4 separate regions of the Homo sapiens genome follow, and regions 1, 3 and 4 are each linked to region 2. Evidence: promoter capture Hi-C in 16 types of primary human blood cells and fetal thymus (Javierre and others, 2016). All regions are on one chromosome and are shown on one strand. Each heading gives the region's core, a stretch centred on a gene start or on the middle of the fragment in contact. The rest is flanking DNA. Distances are from core to core; before and after follow the strand shown.

What was found. Contacts are between HindIII fragments. The CHiCAGO score rates a contact against its expected background, and 5 or more counts as called.
Region 1: a fragment that was not itself captured here is called in contact with the fragment with the promoter of CHRNA1 in region 2 in 6 of 17 cell types (naive CD8 T cells, activated CD4 T cells, naive CD4 T cells and 3 more); the score reaches 8.2 in naive CD8 T cells.
Region 3: a fragment that was not itself captured here is called in contact with the fragment with the promoter of CHRNA1 in region 2 in 13 of 17 cell types (naive CD8 T cells, naive CD4 T cells, total CD4 T cells and 10 more); the score reaches 17.9 in naive CD8 T cells.
Region 4: a contact is called between a fragment that was not itself captured here and the fragment with the promoter of CHRNA1 in region 2, in 8 of 17 cell types (total CD8 T cells, naive CD8 T cells, naive CD4 T cells and 5 more). The highest score is 10.9, in total CD8 T cells.

What each region holds. Positions count from the first base shown.
Region 1 is chr2:174,933,170-174,936,363 of GRCh38, reverse strand. All of the region lies in intron 3 of CHN1 (chimerin 1), which reads left to right. Among named protein-coding and RNA genes, the nearest start is that of CHN1, 71 kb to the left of the region's middle. The HindIII fragment of the contact is 619 bases long and covers 1,298-1,916 here.
Region 2 is chr2:174,763,032-174,766,648 of GRCh38, reverse strand. CHRNA1 (cholinergic receptor nicotinic alpha 1 subunit) reads left to right here and starts at 2,177. Exons shown (of 9, transcript NM_000079.4): 1 at 2,177-2,297. The coding sequence starts at 2,255. RefSeq lists an enhancer at 1,677-2,176. The HindIII fragment of the contact is 3,214 bases long and covers 1-3,187 here.
Region 3 is chr2:174,975,541-174,978,977 of GRCh38, reverse strand. All of the region lies in intron 1 of CHN1 (chimerin 1), which reads left to right. Among named protein-coding and RNA genes, the nearest start is that of CHN1, 28 kb to the left of the region's middle. The HindIII fragment of the contact is 7,564 bases long and covers 1-3,437 here.
Region 4 is chr2:174,955,864-174,959,583 of GRCh38, reverse strand. The region is part of intron 1 of CHN1 (chimerin 1); the gene reads left to right. Among named protein-coding and RNA genes, the nearest start is that of CHN1, 48 kb to the left of the region's middle. The HindIII fragment of the contact is 2,101 bases long and covers 375-2,475 here.

The DNA of each region.
Region 1 (3,194 bases), core at 358-2,857, 170 kb before region 2:
TAATACAGTGTATTTGGCACTGGACCATTATTAAACATGGACCCTCAAAGTGGACGCACTTTTCCCCCTGCTATCCACACAGTGGGAAATGTAGTGATGATTTTTTTTAAACATATAAAGCCAAATTTCTATTCCCTGTGACACATTTTTCAAGTTAGTGTTGCAGGGAGTTGGATAGCATTTTTGAGTACAGGTGCACATTATAGTAACAATGAGGTTGTCTTTCTCTAGGCTAAATGGGTAAAGTAGACTGAGGCTGGACAAAATGTACTGAAACACAAGTCAGTGCTATTAGTGTAATGAGAAATGTAGATAAAATTACACAATTTACACTGTTTTCAAATTCTAACTACAATACCAATTAGAGTAATACTGAGTATGTATTTTGGTAGCACATGTTTTATTTTTATTTACTTTTAATATATTTTTTAGAGACAGAATCTTGCTGTGTTGCCTGGGCTGGAGTGCAGTGGCCCAATTTTAGCTCACTGTGGCTTTGCATTGCCAGGCTCAAGTGATCCTTCTACCTCAGCCTCCTGAGTAGCTGGGACTGCATGTGTGCACCGCCGTGCCTGGCTTTTTTGTTTTGTTTTGTTTTCTTGTAGAGATAAGGTCTTACTATGTTCCCCAGGCTTGTCTTGAACTCCTGGGCTCAAGCGATCCTCCTGCCTCAGCCTCCCAAAGTGCTGGGATTACAGGCGTGAGCCACCGTGCCAGGCCAACACATGTTTTAAAAATGTTTTTCTAAAGACCTACTTATAGAAGTAGGAAATTGACTGTAATCATTTTACTCACCTGTCTCCCCCAAGCAGATTATGTTCAGCACCTAGGTATGCTGACTGGTGTGTAGTATAGGTTGTTAAATGCTTATAGGGTGGAATGAATGAATGAGATATCTTTGTGTAATTTATTTTTCAATACAATGTTCTTATAATATGGCTTACAAAATGTGTGCATTAATACCTATATCTGTTAGAGATGCTCTGGTTCTTTCTGTCACATGTATGTATTTGTTCATTCAGTCAGCATTCTTGGAGGGGCTACCATCTGCCAGGCCCTCAGGTTTCAAGTCAAATAAAGCAAAATCCCTCTCCTGAAGGAGCTTCCAGTCTAGGTGGGGAATGGAGCGGTAGCTCAACCTTTACTTAGTGCAGAAGCGCAGAGTTGGTAGTACTTACCTTGATACATATGTATGCAGCTCCTCTGGCCAAGGGCAGAGTACTTGTGGGAGAGTGGTAAAAGATAAGCCCGGAAAGCTAACCAGGCATTAGTAATAAAGGGTTCTATGTCCTAAGCTTAGAGTTTAGACTATAGAAGTGAAAGTATTTTAAGCAGGAGAAAAACGTGATTGATTAGGCTTAGGAAGAACAACTGGCTGCAGGGAAGAGGATGGATATTTTAGAGACAAAAAGACTGGTTTAGGAGGCTATTACAGTAGTCCTTGTGATAAGTGAAAAGAACCTACAAGACACTGGTTCTGAGAATAGTCAAGAGGGATTAGGAAAGGGGAATATTTAAAGCAGTAGAATTCTCAGGACTTGCTGACAAGATGGTCATGGGTTGCATGAGAGGGAGTCTAGTAGATTTTCAGGAACCAGTCAACTCTCCTAATCTTCTTTCATGTCATACTTGCTTGGCAAAACTGCAACCCTATTGCTATCTCTGCCTATTCTGCACATTCTGCCAAGTAACAGTATGGCTGGAGGAAAATGAAATATTTCGGAATTTCTGAACTTCAAGTTGGTACTTAATGCTCCCTGTACTGCCTTTATTCATGTCATGCCCTTTCTCTCTTCTCAAACCTCTAATACAGGGGTCCCCGGCCCCTGTGCCACAGACTGGTACCGTCTTGTGGCCTGTTAGGAACTGGGCCGCACAGCAGGAGGTGAGCAGCAGGCAGGTGAGCAAGTGAAGCTTCATCTGTGTTTATAGCTACTCCCCATTGCTCACATTACTGCCTGAGCTCTGCCTCCTGTCAGATCAGTAGTGGCATTAGATTCTCATAGGAGTGTGACCCCTATTGTGAACTGCCCATGCAAGGGATCTAGGTTGTGCACTTCTTATGAAAATCTAATGCCTGATGATCTGTCACTGTCTCCCATTACCCCCAGATGAGACTGTCTAGTTGCAAGAAAACAAGCTCAGGGCTCCCACTGATTCTACATTATGGTGAGTTGTATAATTATTTCATTATATATTACAATGTAATAATAATAGAAATAAAGTACACACTAAATGTAATGTGCGTGAATCATTCCAAAACCATCCCCTCACCTCTGACCCCTGTCTGTAGAAAAATTGTAAAATTGTCTCCCACGAAACTGGTCCCTGGTGCCAAAAAGGTTGGGGACCACTGTTCTGATACCTTACTCCCTCTCCTAATTTTCAGCTCATAATTTTGTATCCTACTTTACTCCTGCTTAAAGCCATCAGAAGAGAACTTCCACAAACTTCCACTGTCACATCCACCCAACCATCAGTATTTGTGTCTGTATGTTCTGCATTCTTGCTTAACCTCATAGGTGATAGCTAGCTCTTCACTACACTAAACCTCACTTCCTCTCTATCTGCTTAAGGACATAATCCTAGCAATTTTCTCCTTTCCTCCACCATCAACAGCTTTTCCCTTTCTGCAAGATCATTTTCGTCAGCCCACAAATATCCTATTATTTCTCCTATCTTAAAAAGTTCTCTTGACCCTGCTTTCTCCATTTGCCTCGCTCAATTTCTTTGCTTTCTTTTGTAGAAAATATTTCAAAGTGTTGTCTGTACTTGCTGTCTGCACTCAGAACTTTACCCACTGCCACTCCAAGCAGAACTGCTTTGGTAAGGTCAGTACTGACTTCCCTATACATACAAATCTAGTAGTTTTTTTTTTCCTCTCATCATCCCATTAGGAGCATCTGATACAAGTGATGACTTTCTCCTCCTTGATACATTTTTCTCACTTTGTTTCCAGGATACTACATTCTTTTATTTTTTCTTTTGCCCCCACAGTCTATTTCTCTGGTGCTGCTTCAACCTGATCTCTTGATTTTGGGGTGCCCCCAAATCCTCTCCTCTTCTCTTCTCTACCTATATTTACTTTATTATGATCTTACCAGTTTCAGGTTTTAATGTAACTTACATTTCTTTATATGTCCAGTCCTTTCTCCCAAACTCCTATATACCTATATATATACACACATATATAT
Region 2 (3,617 bases), core at 928-3,427:
ATGTGCCTATATACACACATGGTCACAATTCTTTAATCTGATTAATTTCTTTGCATCCTAACCACTATACCTCTCTCCTTCAACTTAATAGCAGCCATCTTGAAGCCATCTGAAAAAAAAAATAGATTTGGCTGTGAAGAAAGCACCCTTAAAGTGATCTTTGCTGTGGTGATGAAACTGCCTGTTTAAAGAGAAGTCTTAACGGGCTTTGGTTGCTCAAAGCCTTTATTCCATGTTTTCACTTACTCTTTTGAAGTTCAAAACAGAAGACTCCACATTTCTGGACTCATTCTATTTCTTTTCATTTCTGCTCTTGAACCAGCACATTTTTGCCTGAGCTCAGCTCTTCCTTGTACTGACTTGCTAAACAAAGCCAGAAAGAGCCATGGTGCACTAACTTTGGGTTTACCAGCCTCTATTCTGGGAGCTACAGGCTCAGTAGACACATTGTTCACCAAGTAATTGAGGACAACAGTTTATGAAATGATTTGATACCATATAACATGGGTCTTCATATTTTCAGCCTCCAGTATCAATTTTCTTGCCTTCTGCTGCAGTGCTACATATTTTAGAATTTATTTTTAACCTCAGGATACTAGTGCAAAGGATTACATATTTTATTAATTACGGAACACTAGCTGCTGTACAAATAAACCCAAGGATTTTGATGGCTCAGCACGATGCATGTTTTGTTTTCATTGAAATAGTGCTGGGTGGTGAGCAGGTGGATAGGGGGTCCCCCTCCATGCAGTCATTCAAGGATTCAGAATGTCAAAAGCAACACCACCTTCAGAACATGGTTTCTAAGGTTAACTTTGGGACCATGTCCATTCTAGCCGGTCAGAAGACTAGAAGGGCGGGGCTGAGCTCTGGTAGGTTTGTGAGTCTGAGAACATTTTTCCACTCATGCCACTGGCCAGAGGTCAGTCCCATGGCTCCATTTAGATGGAAGGGGCTGGTCAGAGGGTGGGGGTTGTATTTCTGCCACGGGGCTATTCCATGGAAGGGAGAGAACCAAATTTTTTTTTAGCAAACAGTTAACTGATCTCCCACAGTTTAAACAAAAAATATAAATAGTATGAGCTTGCAGCTCTCTCCTCTACCCTCCAAGCCCCTTCTCTAATGATTTGTTTGGATCCACTGGAATGAGAGGATCTGTCAGGATGTTGTTGTGGGCTTGAGGTGAGAGGACCTTTCTCACCTAGTTCCATGTGGGAAGGAGGCCTGGAAGGAACAGGCAGGGTACCTTTAAGTAACTGTCTCCTTCTGGGAACTCACCTCACACCCTGCAAAGAAGCACAGCTAGGGTAACAATACTTCTCAGACTGAGAAATTACTAACTGCTGGTTTTTAGGATGTTTTTCAAGCAAGATAATTGAAAAGCTGAACCACTCTGCTCTTTGCTTCCCTGAGTGAGAGTAGGCAGAGGGACGGATGGAAGGAGGCAGGAACCCGGAACGACTGCTGATGCGGTGGGACACTTTTTCCCAATAATTACTCTTCGCTTGAATCACAGTGCATAGGACGTGGGCAATTTGCTCCAGCTAATGGTTCGTGTGGGATAGGTATTGCCTGATACAGAGGCAGGGGTTGGAACAGCCACTCTGGGGGCCAGTAAAGCCAGTTTTATGGAAGAAGCTGTCTTTGTTAAAAACCAAACCCAATCAACGTGGGGGCTTCCCAGCAGCAGACTCAACACCAGCTACACTTTTCTGAAATCCAGGCAGTCAGAAAAGCCCCCGGCACCCTCAGCCTAACACTGAAGCAGAGGAAATGAAACTGAAGCCATGTTTGCAGAATGTGGATTTTTGTGGTTTAGGACAAACAGCTGACTATCTACTCAGACCAAATGACCCTAATCAAGTCAACCCACAGAGATGAGGTTCTGGTTTACACAAAAGAGAGGCAGTTTGCTCACCATTTAAAATAATTCCTTCCTTCCTATACATTTTTTTTTCATTAAGATCTGACTACTGGTGCATTTAAAATATAATGCAGTTCATACTCAGCTTGTCAAGGGTAAGCAATTGTGTAAAGTGAGGCATATCTGTAATGGTGTACAGTCCCAGTAACTCCCTGGGCTCCAGGGCTGAGGGCAGCCCAGCTGTCGCTCCCACAAACAGGTGGTGTAAAACAATAGCTCTAGTGAGCCGACTCGCTTTCCAAACCCTCCAGCAGACAAGCACCCAGCCAGAGTGCCAGTGAGAAGCACAGGCCACCACTCTGCCCTGGTCCACACAAGCTCCGGTAGCCCATGGAGCCCTGGCCTCTCCTCCTGCTCTTTAGCCTTTGCTCAGGTAAGTGCTGGGGTCAGGGGTGGGGAGAGGGCTCTCCTTTGAGGCTAAAGTGCTGGAGGCCCCCAAATCAAAGTCTTGCTTCTTTGATGAGACCACAGAATGGCAGAGCCTCCCCAACCAGGGGCTGCTCTGTCAGTTTCTTCCTGATGTTAGCTTGATTGAGTTTTTGGATAAAGATTTTTAGTTTGCCTTATCTAATTAAAATAGAAACTGCCTGGTCAAAGACTTCAAGATAGACACGCATGTCTCTCCCTCCATCATGCCTGGCAGCCGACTCATCCCTCTGAACACTCGGCACCATTTGTAGGACCTGGACCACTTGTGGATCATGGTAGTGTCCGGGGGTTCATATTTAAACAACTATGGATACTTAGAACAGTGCCTTATAATCACATACAATGGAGTTAACAAGTCCCTTTACTGCTCCAGGAGAATTCTAATAATAAAGAGGACTGATTGACAGCTACATGTGCTGGAGATAGAAACCAGTTAATAATCATAACTAAACTCTCTCCACAGAGACAAATATTTTTTAATTTTTTCAAAATTTCTGAAGTTAAAAAAAATTCCATATGAATACATTCCTACCTACTTTTTTTTTTTAAGATGTTACTATATATAGGTTTGGGTTTGAATTGAAACTATAAAACCTTGCACAGCATTTGACCTGCATTCTACTCTGGAATGTGTCCTAACACAGCAGCTGAAACACCATCCTGAATCCCAGACTTCCGCTAGAGGGAAACAGGAGATGTTTGCTGATTGCTTCACATAAAAGTTTACTGGTGATATCATCCCAACTGAGAAACAAGGTGGCTGACATCCTGTGATTTTTCATTTCCAATATTGCTCTGAAAAACACAGGCCTTCTGGTCAAGAGGCAAAAAGCTTTATTATTAATTTTTTTCAATATCAGAGTTGAGTGAAAGAGCCTAAACTCAGATAAATTATATCATGTGGGATTTGGACTCTGTCCAGCCAAAGCTGGCCTGATGTGTGTGTGTGTGTGTGTGTGTGTGTGCGCGCGCGTGCACACACATGCGTGCACGCAAAACCACAGTCACAGGAAAATTCTTAAATGATATGCTTTAATGTAAACATCCTTAAGAGATCTCTTAGGATTTTGGTTATTGCTAACCAAAAATGCATGATTAGCTATTAAAGAAGTATGTGATATGTATTTAGGTCAAATCTCGAGTTTGCTGGCATTGATTTCCATGGGTGTTTTATAGAAATTTAGAGCTAGATCAGGCAGTCCAACATCCTCAATTTTTTATTACAAGGAAACTAAAGCTGACCTGCCCAAGGTCACTTAATTTA
Region 3 (3,437 bases), core at 938-3,437, 210 kb before region 2:
TACTTAATACATGTTTGATGAATGGATGAATGAAGGAGTGAATGGATGAGATTTTATCTGATTGATGGTGATCTAGATTTGTTTTCTCTTCAGTCACTAAAGGTCTGGCTATCATTCTAATTTCCAGAGTATTTTGAAAACATTTTATTACTGGTTTGGTCAGTCTGGAAGGACAAAGGATAACATGATGGGAACAGTTTAAAATGATTGTGTATCGTTAGCTACATTTCACACTATCAAAAGTTATTAAAGATATATTTAAAATCCAGAATCTTTATTGCATTTTGACAAATGTAAGTGAAAAAAGAACCAGAAATAACAATAAACTAGAATTGATTAGAGATGCATTTGGAGCCTGGAATTAGTATTTACAAAATGGATTAGTCTCTCAATGTGGTGCAGGGCAAAGTATGAGCCATTACCTGTGTAGTAAGTAGGTTTGTAGAAATGTTTAACCTGAATCAGGGCTGGCTTCATTGGCATGTGACCTACGCAGTCACTCAGGGCCCACACGCAGAGAGACCTCATTCTTTGTTTAATGCCCTGTGCTGCCATTTTGAAATTTTTAATAATTTTTGAACAAGGGGCTTGCAAATTATCTAGCAGATCCTGATCTGAATCATGGGGAAATAATCACAGAAATACGGATTGTGGACATTCTACAAGACAGCTGGTCTAGATTTTTAAAAAGATGTCATTGTCATGAAAGATGTTTTTAAAACCTAGAGGAGTGGGAAATGTTCTAGGTTGAAGAACGCTAACTAAGGAGACATGGTAACCAAAAGCAATGCATGAACCTTGATTGGATCCTGGATCAAAGAACAAAATAAAATAACATTTTTCACGTAATTGGAAATACTTGATGATATGTTTAAACTGTAATATACCATCAGGGTCCTTTTTGCCCAATATTAATTTTTGAGTTTCTTTTTTGAACAGTTCTAAATCTTTATATACTTTGACATTTCATTACTTTTATTTTTTCTTAGAGGTCTTCCACAGAACAAAGAAAACAATTTACCTGTTTTTAATAGAATGAAAGTCATTATATCTTTTAAACATTTTATTTATTTTTTCATTTTAAAGCCAGTCAGATTTAGCAATGGGGGGTTATATATCAACTTTAGTGAACTAATGTTAATAAATTTTGATAACCCACTACCATTGGAGCAGCCAAAAGTCATTATATCTTGCAATTACCACACAGGTCCCTTTAGAAATGTAAGCCTCATGAAGGGATTTTAGTGATCTTATCCTGAAACATTTTGCCACTCCATCATCCTAGGAATTATTTGCTCATTGCTTATGAATTACTCCCAATTATACTACAAGTAAAAAGACTAACATAAAAATCAAACAAAAGAATTCTGTATTTGTGAAATACATGATCCGATTGTGTCATCCTTCAGTTTTCTTATTGCGTTGCCCAAGGTGTTGCATCATCTTCAACAAGGTATAAAGGCAGCCTGAAGACACTGTCTTTGTTGTCTGTTAAATTTTCATTGAACACACTTTGTTAAACACAGTTGAAAACTTTTAATTGTTTATTTTCAGCCCATATTGGCAAACAGCAATTCTTTGACAGAGGAAGATTTTTCTAATTATTAGACAAATCAGGTGAACAGGTAATGGCACTCTGGACTCTAATGATAATGGTTAAATTGATTATATAGAAGAAATGTCAATATAGATTATCAGATGATGATATCCTAGGTCTAAGGTTGACAAGCTGGTCAGAGTTTTATTAGGAAAGCCATGTCCACTAATTTACATATTGTCTATGGCTGCTTTTCTGCTACAAAAGCAGAGTTCAGTCGTTGAGACAGGCGGGTTTGTTTTGCAGCCTAAAATATCTACTTTCTGAAACTTCACAGAAGTTTGCCAACCTAGTTGTCTAAGGTGAATTTCATCAAACTCAAGAATTGACAGTGAACAATGTGTCTAAGGACAGAAGGAGAAATAGTATTCAAACTCACATAGTCATTCAACAGGAAGGATTTTATTGCAGCAAGATGCTGGACCATCCCGTTTGCTAATAGGACCATTGACAGTATTTTTTCATCTTTTATGATGTTTGTGCACCAGAATTTACTTGATGCGGTTATTTAGTGGACAGATGCCAAAGACAGGTGTGTGTATAACAATGACTGGAAGGAAATGAGTGATATAGAAATGAACGATTTTATTGGATTGATCAGTTTAATTGGTTTTTATAAATCTAAAAATAAAAATATTTTGCAATTATGGAGCAAAGAAGATGGCTCTCTTTTCTTCAACAAAATTATGAGCCATCTGAGTTCTTTAAGGTATTCTGTTTTGAAGATGCAAGTGCAAGAGGAAAAACCAGAAGTAATGATAAACTAGAATTTAATGAAGATACTTTTGAAGTCTGGAATCTTGATTGCATTTTGACAGGGCAAGTGCAAGCAAAACCAGAAGCAGCTGGGTGCGGTGGCTCATGCCTGTAATCCAGCACTTTGGGAGGCAGAGGTGGGCAGATTACCTGAGGTCAGGAGTTCAAGATCAGGCTGGCCAACATGGTGAAACCCCGTCTGTACTAAAAATAGAAAAAATTAGCCCGGCATGGTGGTGGGCGTCTGTGATCCCAGCTACTCGGGAGGCTGAGGCAGGAGAATTGCTTGAACCCGGGAGGCGGAGGTTGCAGTGAGCCGAGATCGTGCCACTGCACTCCAGCCTGGGTGAAATTTATATAAATTTGAAGTCATTTTATGAATAATTTACAGATGTAATAAAAGGATAGTGAAACATAACATGGCAGAAATTTTAATAAAAATTTAAACAGGAAAGCCAAAATCTTAGTCCTTTTTTTTTTTTTTTTTTTTTTTTTTTTGAGACGGAGTCTTGCCCTGTTGGCCCAGGCTACAGAGCAGTGGCGCGATCTCTGCTCACTGCAAGCTCCGCCTCCCGGGTTCACACCATTCACCTGCCTCAGCCTCCCAAGTAGCTGGGACTACAGACACCCGCCACCATGCCCGGCTAATTTTTTTTTTTTGTATTTTAGCAGAGACGGGGTTTCACCATGTTAGCCAGGATGATCTCGATCTCTTGACCTCGTGATCCGCCCACCTCGGCCTCCCAAAGTGCTGGGATTACAGGTGTGAGCCACTTTTGTTTGTTTTAAAGATATATATCCCAAAAGGGCAGCATTCTTTGAAGTCTCATCAACTAACTGCTCATTAATTCTGTCATGTATGAACCTGGGATATATCCATTTATGTAAATACTGATTCCAGGCTTCAAATACATCTAGTTTATATCAAATAGATTCTAGCTTATCATTGCTTCTGTTTTTTTTTTTTTTGTTTGTTTTGTTTTTTTTGCCTGGCTAAAATTTATATAAATTAAAAGAGCTTATGGACCTGGGTGGTAAATGGTAATGACTGCTCTTCCAGGTACAGAGGGTTAATTTCTTGGGT
Region 4 (3,720 bases), core at 176-2,675, 190 kb before region 2:
TTGAATCTCAGGAATTAAAGATTGGGGTAATGTTTCTTCCTTTTCAGGAAGATTTAGCGTCCTGGAAAATTGGTCCTCCTGCCTTCAGCAACTAATTCTGCATATCAAGAGATTGAGGCACTTTTTCCTAAGCCATTCAACTTTCCCCTCCCAGTGTCCCCTCCTCCCCTGAGTCCTAAGGACAGTGGCACCTACCCACTGGTCAACTAAAGGAACATTCAAGCCGCTTTTCTCTCAGCAAAAGGATCCACACCAGTGATCTAAGGTCTCTACCCATAAACATAAGAAAGGCCAAAATAATTTTTAAGTGTTCTCCTTCAAAGAACATCTCATCTAATCTCTGCCTTAATAGATACCTGTTACACAGTTAAGCTTATGGTATATATAGCTAATTGCTCTCCAGAGAGGTTATGCCAGTTTAGACTTCTACCAGCAAAAAATAGATTGCTAGGAAAATATATTTAAAACCTAAACAGTGCTCTTAAATGTCATTAATTAGAATTGTTTTAATATTAAAAGAAATATTAAAAGAATATTAAAAGAAATTCAAACTTTTCCCCTAATATTTCTTATTTTTTTGCCAAATACTAAATTTATTTGGCCATGATTGTGATCTGTAGCATCTTGAATAATGTCTTTTATAACAGAGCAGGTGTACATGGAAGACCAAGATAGTAAGAAGGGAATACATGGCTGAAATCATTAACAGCGGCTTGAGGCTAATATGGTAATATTGTGTTTTCAGAATAACTTTTGGTGAAGGCAGGAGAGGGTTCTTATTTACTGAAGGTCTCCTAAGTACAAGGTGCTTTATAGATGATACCTAATTTAATTCTCAACAACAAACCTATGTTGTTACTATTCCCATTTTAGATGATATTGTTATTCCATTTTATAAATAAATAGATTAAGATGCAGAGAGGTAGTAAATTTTCTAAAGTCACAGAGCAAGTAAAGGTTGATGTTCCCTAAGAAAGCGCCACCTAGCACTAAGTACACAGTTCTTAGAGTAAGGACTTTGAGAATTAGCCTTTCTTTCTCACCTTCTCCAAAGTCAGAATGATCTCCGGGAGGCCCTCACGGCTCATAGGTGCAGCTTTGCACAGGGTCTGTGAGGCGTTAGGGCCAACTACAAAATCTCCAAGACTTCCCTCACTTTTGACACCAACTGCAAATTGAGTGGGGGAGTTCCCCAACCACCTTCATGGACTAAAATTCACTAGAAGGACTCAACAGAACTCACTAAACATTACTTACATTCATGGTTATTGCCGGGAAAGGATACATATTAAAATCAGCCAGGGGAAGACAGGCACAGGACAGCGTCCAGGAGAAATGCAAAACACAGAGTTTCCATTGTCCTCTCTCCTTGGAGTCAGGACACATGCCCACCCTCCCTCCCTCCCTTCCTTCTCTCCTCCTGTCCTTCCTTCCTTACTTCCTCCCTTCCCTCCCTTTCCTTCCTTCCTTGGTGCCCAGGCTGATCTTGAACTCCTGGGCTCAAGCAGTCCTCCTGCCTCAGCCTCCAGAGTAGCTGGGATTACAGTTATGTCGCTGGCTTCTTCTTGCATTTATGTGTGATGATCCACGTGGGATATTTCCAACCAGAGAAGCTCTCCCGGCCTCGGTGTTCAGAGCTTTCATTGGGGCTTTATTGCATAAGCATGGTTGATTGACTGTCCATGTGGTTCCTTAACTGATACCAGTGACCCAAAGCCCCAAGTTACTCTCTGGCTGGCCCCAGGCAAACAAAAATTATCTTTGAAGGCAAGGTCTAGACCTCTTCTGAGACAAGATTAAATTATTTACTAGATAGGGTCCCAGTCTCATTGAGTGCTCCCTCCCTTCCTAGCCCCTCACAGTGGATCAGGAGGTACCTGGTCACCACCTCTTATGGTTTGGAGCCCCACAAGGAAGTGGAGACACACATAGAATATGGGTGTCCTGTTATAAACTGGAAACTCGCTCCACGTCATACTCCTTAGGATTGAATTATAATAACAGCAGAATATCAAGGAAATAATAACATGACTTGAATGCTTACAGGCAAATTTTTTCTAGTATTAAAAATACAATTGAGTTAATTATGGTTTACTTATTAAGACAAACTTCAATATAATTAACTGCCCCCCCCCCCAACACACACACCCTAGCAGAGGCATTGTGGTCACTTGCAAATAATCACAGAGAAGTAAAAAATTTGAGTCATATGACCTGCCTGTTCCCGGCTGTGGCCAAGCAAGGCAGTTCTCCGCCTTGTTTCAGCTCTCACGCTGTAAACAAGTCCTCTTTTCATGGTCTTTTCAGGGCCACACTTTTTTACATTTTTGTGGGATTTTATTGTTGTTGTTCTTAGTGATTTTGCCATTTAAAATGGTCCCCAAGCCTCGTGCTAAAGTGCTGTCTAGACAGTGTTCCTAAGAGCAAGAAGGCTGTGATACATCTTTTGGAGAGTATGCATGTGTTAGATAAGCTTCATACAGGCATGAGTTCCAGTGTTGTTGCTGTGAGTTCAGTGTTAATGAATCAACGGTATATACGAAATAAGGTGTCTTTAAAGAGATACACATATAACACAAGGTTATGTATTTAATGGTTGATGAAAATGTTGTGACCAGAGGCACACAGGAACCTAACCCTGTGTTGCCCCCAGGAGCAGTGGTTCAGTATTTGCTGCTAAATTCAGTGTTCGAGGTAACTTCATAGCATATAATTACTGTGAATAATAAGAAATGACTCTATTTGCTGCATTATTTCATTCATTATTCATTTATTCATGTAATCTGTTATTCATTCTTTTTTTTTTTTTTTTGAGATGGAGTCTTGCTCTGTCACCCAGGCTGGAGAGCAGTGGTGTGATCTCAGCTCACTGCAGCCTCTGCCCACTGGGTTCAAGCAGTTCTCCCTGCCTCAGCCTCCTGAGTAGCTGGGGTACAGGTACCTGCCACCACGCCCAGCTAATGATTGTATTTTTAGTAGAGATGGGGTTTCATCATGTTGGCCAAGGCTGGTCTCGAGTTCCTCACCTCAGGTGACCCGCCCCTCTTGGCCTCCCAAAGTTCTGGGATTACAGGTGTGAGCCACCACGCCCGGCCTGTTATTCATTCTTTGAGCAGACATATTTGTGTGTGTGTTTTGTTTTTTCATTTTACCATCATATATTCCTTCTCTGATGCTCTTTCTTTATGTAGATTTGAGTTTCTGACTTACATCCTTTTCCCTCTGTTTTTGAAGAATTTCTTCTAACATTTATTTTTGGCCAGGTTTGTTGTGTTGAGTTCTCTCATTTGTTGTTTTTCTGAGAAAGTCTTTATCTTTCCTTCTGATTTGAAGGATAATTCTAGTGGATATAAAATTTGGGGTTGTTATTTTTTCTTTCTTCAACATTTTGGATATTTTACTCCTCTCTCAATGCTTTTATGGTTTCTAGTGAGAAGTCTACTTGTAATTCTTATCATTATTCTCCAATGGAAAAGTTATTTTTCTTCTTCTTCCAAGATTTCCTCTATGTCTTTAAGTTTTCCACAATTGTTTTTTAATTTTCAACTTTTATTTTAGATATGGGGATACATGTGCAGATTTGTTACATGAGAATATTGCATGATGCTGAGGTTTGGAGTACAGGTCCTGTCACCCTGGCAGTGAGCATAGTGCTTAATAGGTAGTTTAACTCACCCCTCTCCTCACCTTCTAGTAGTCCACAATAGACATTGTGTCATA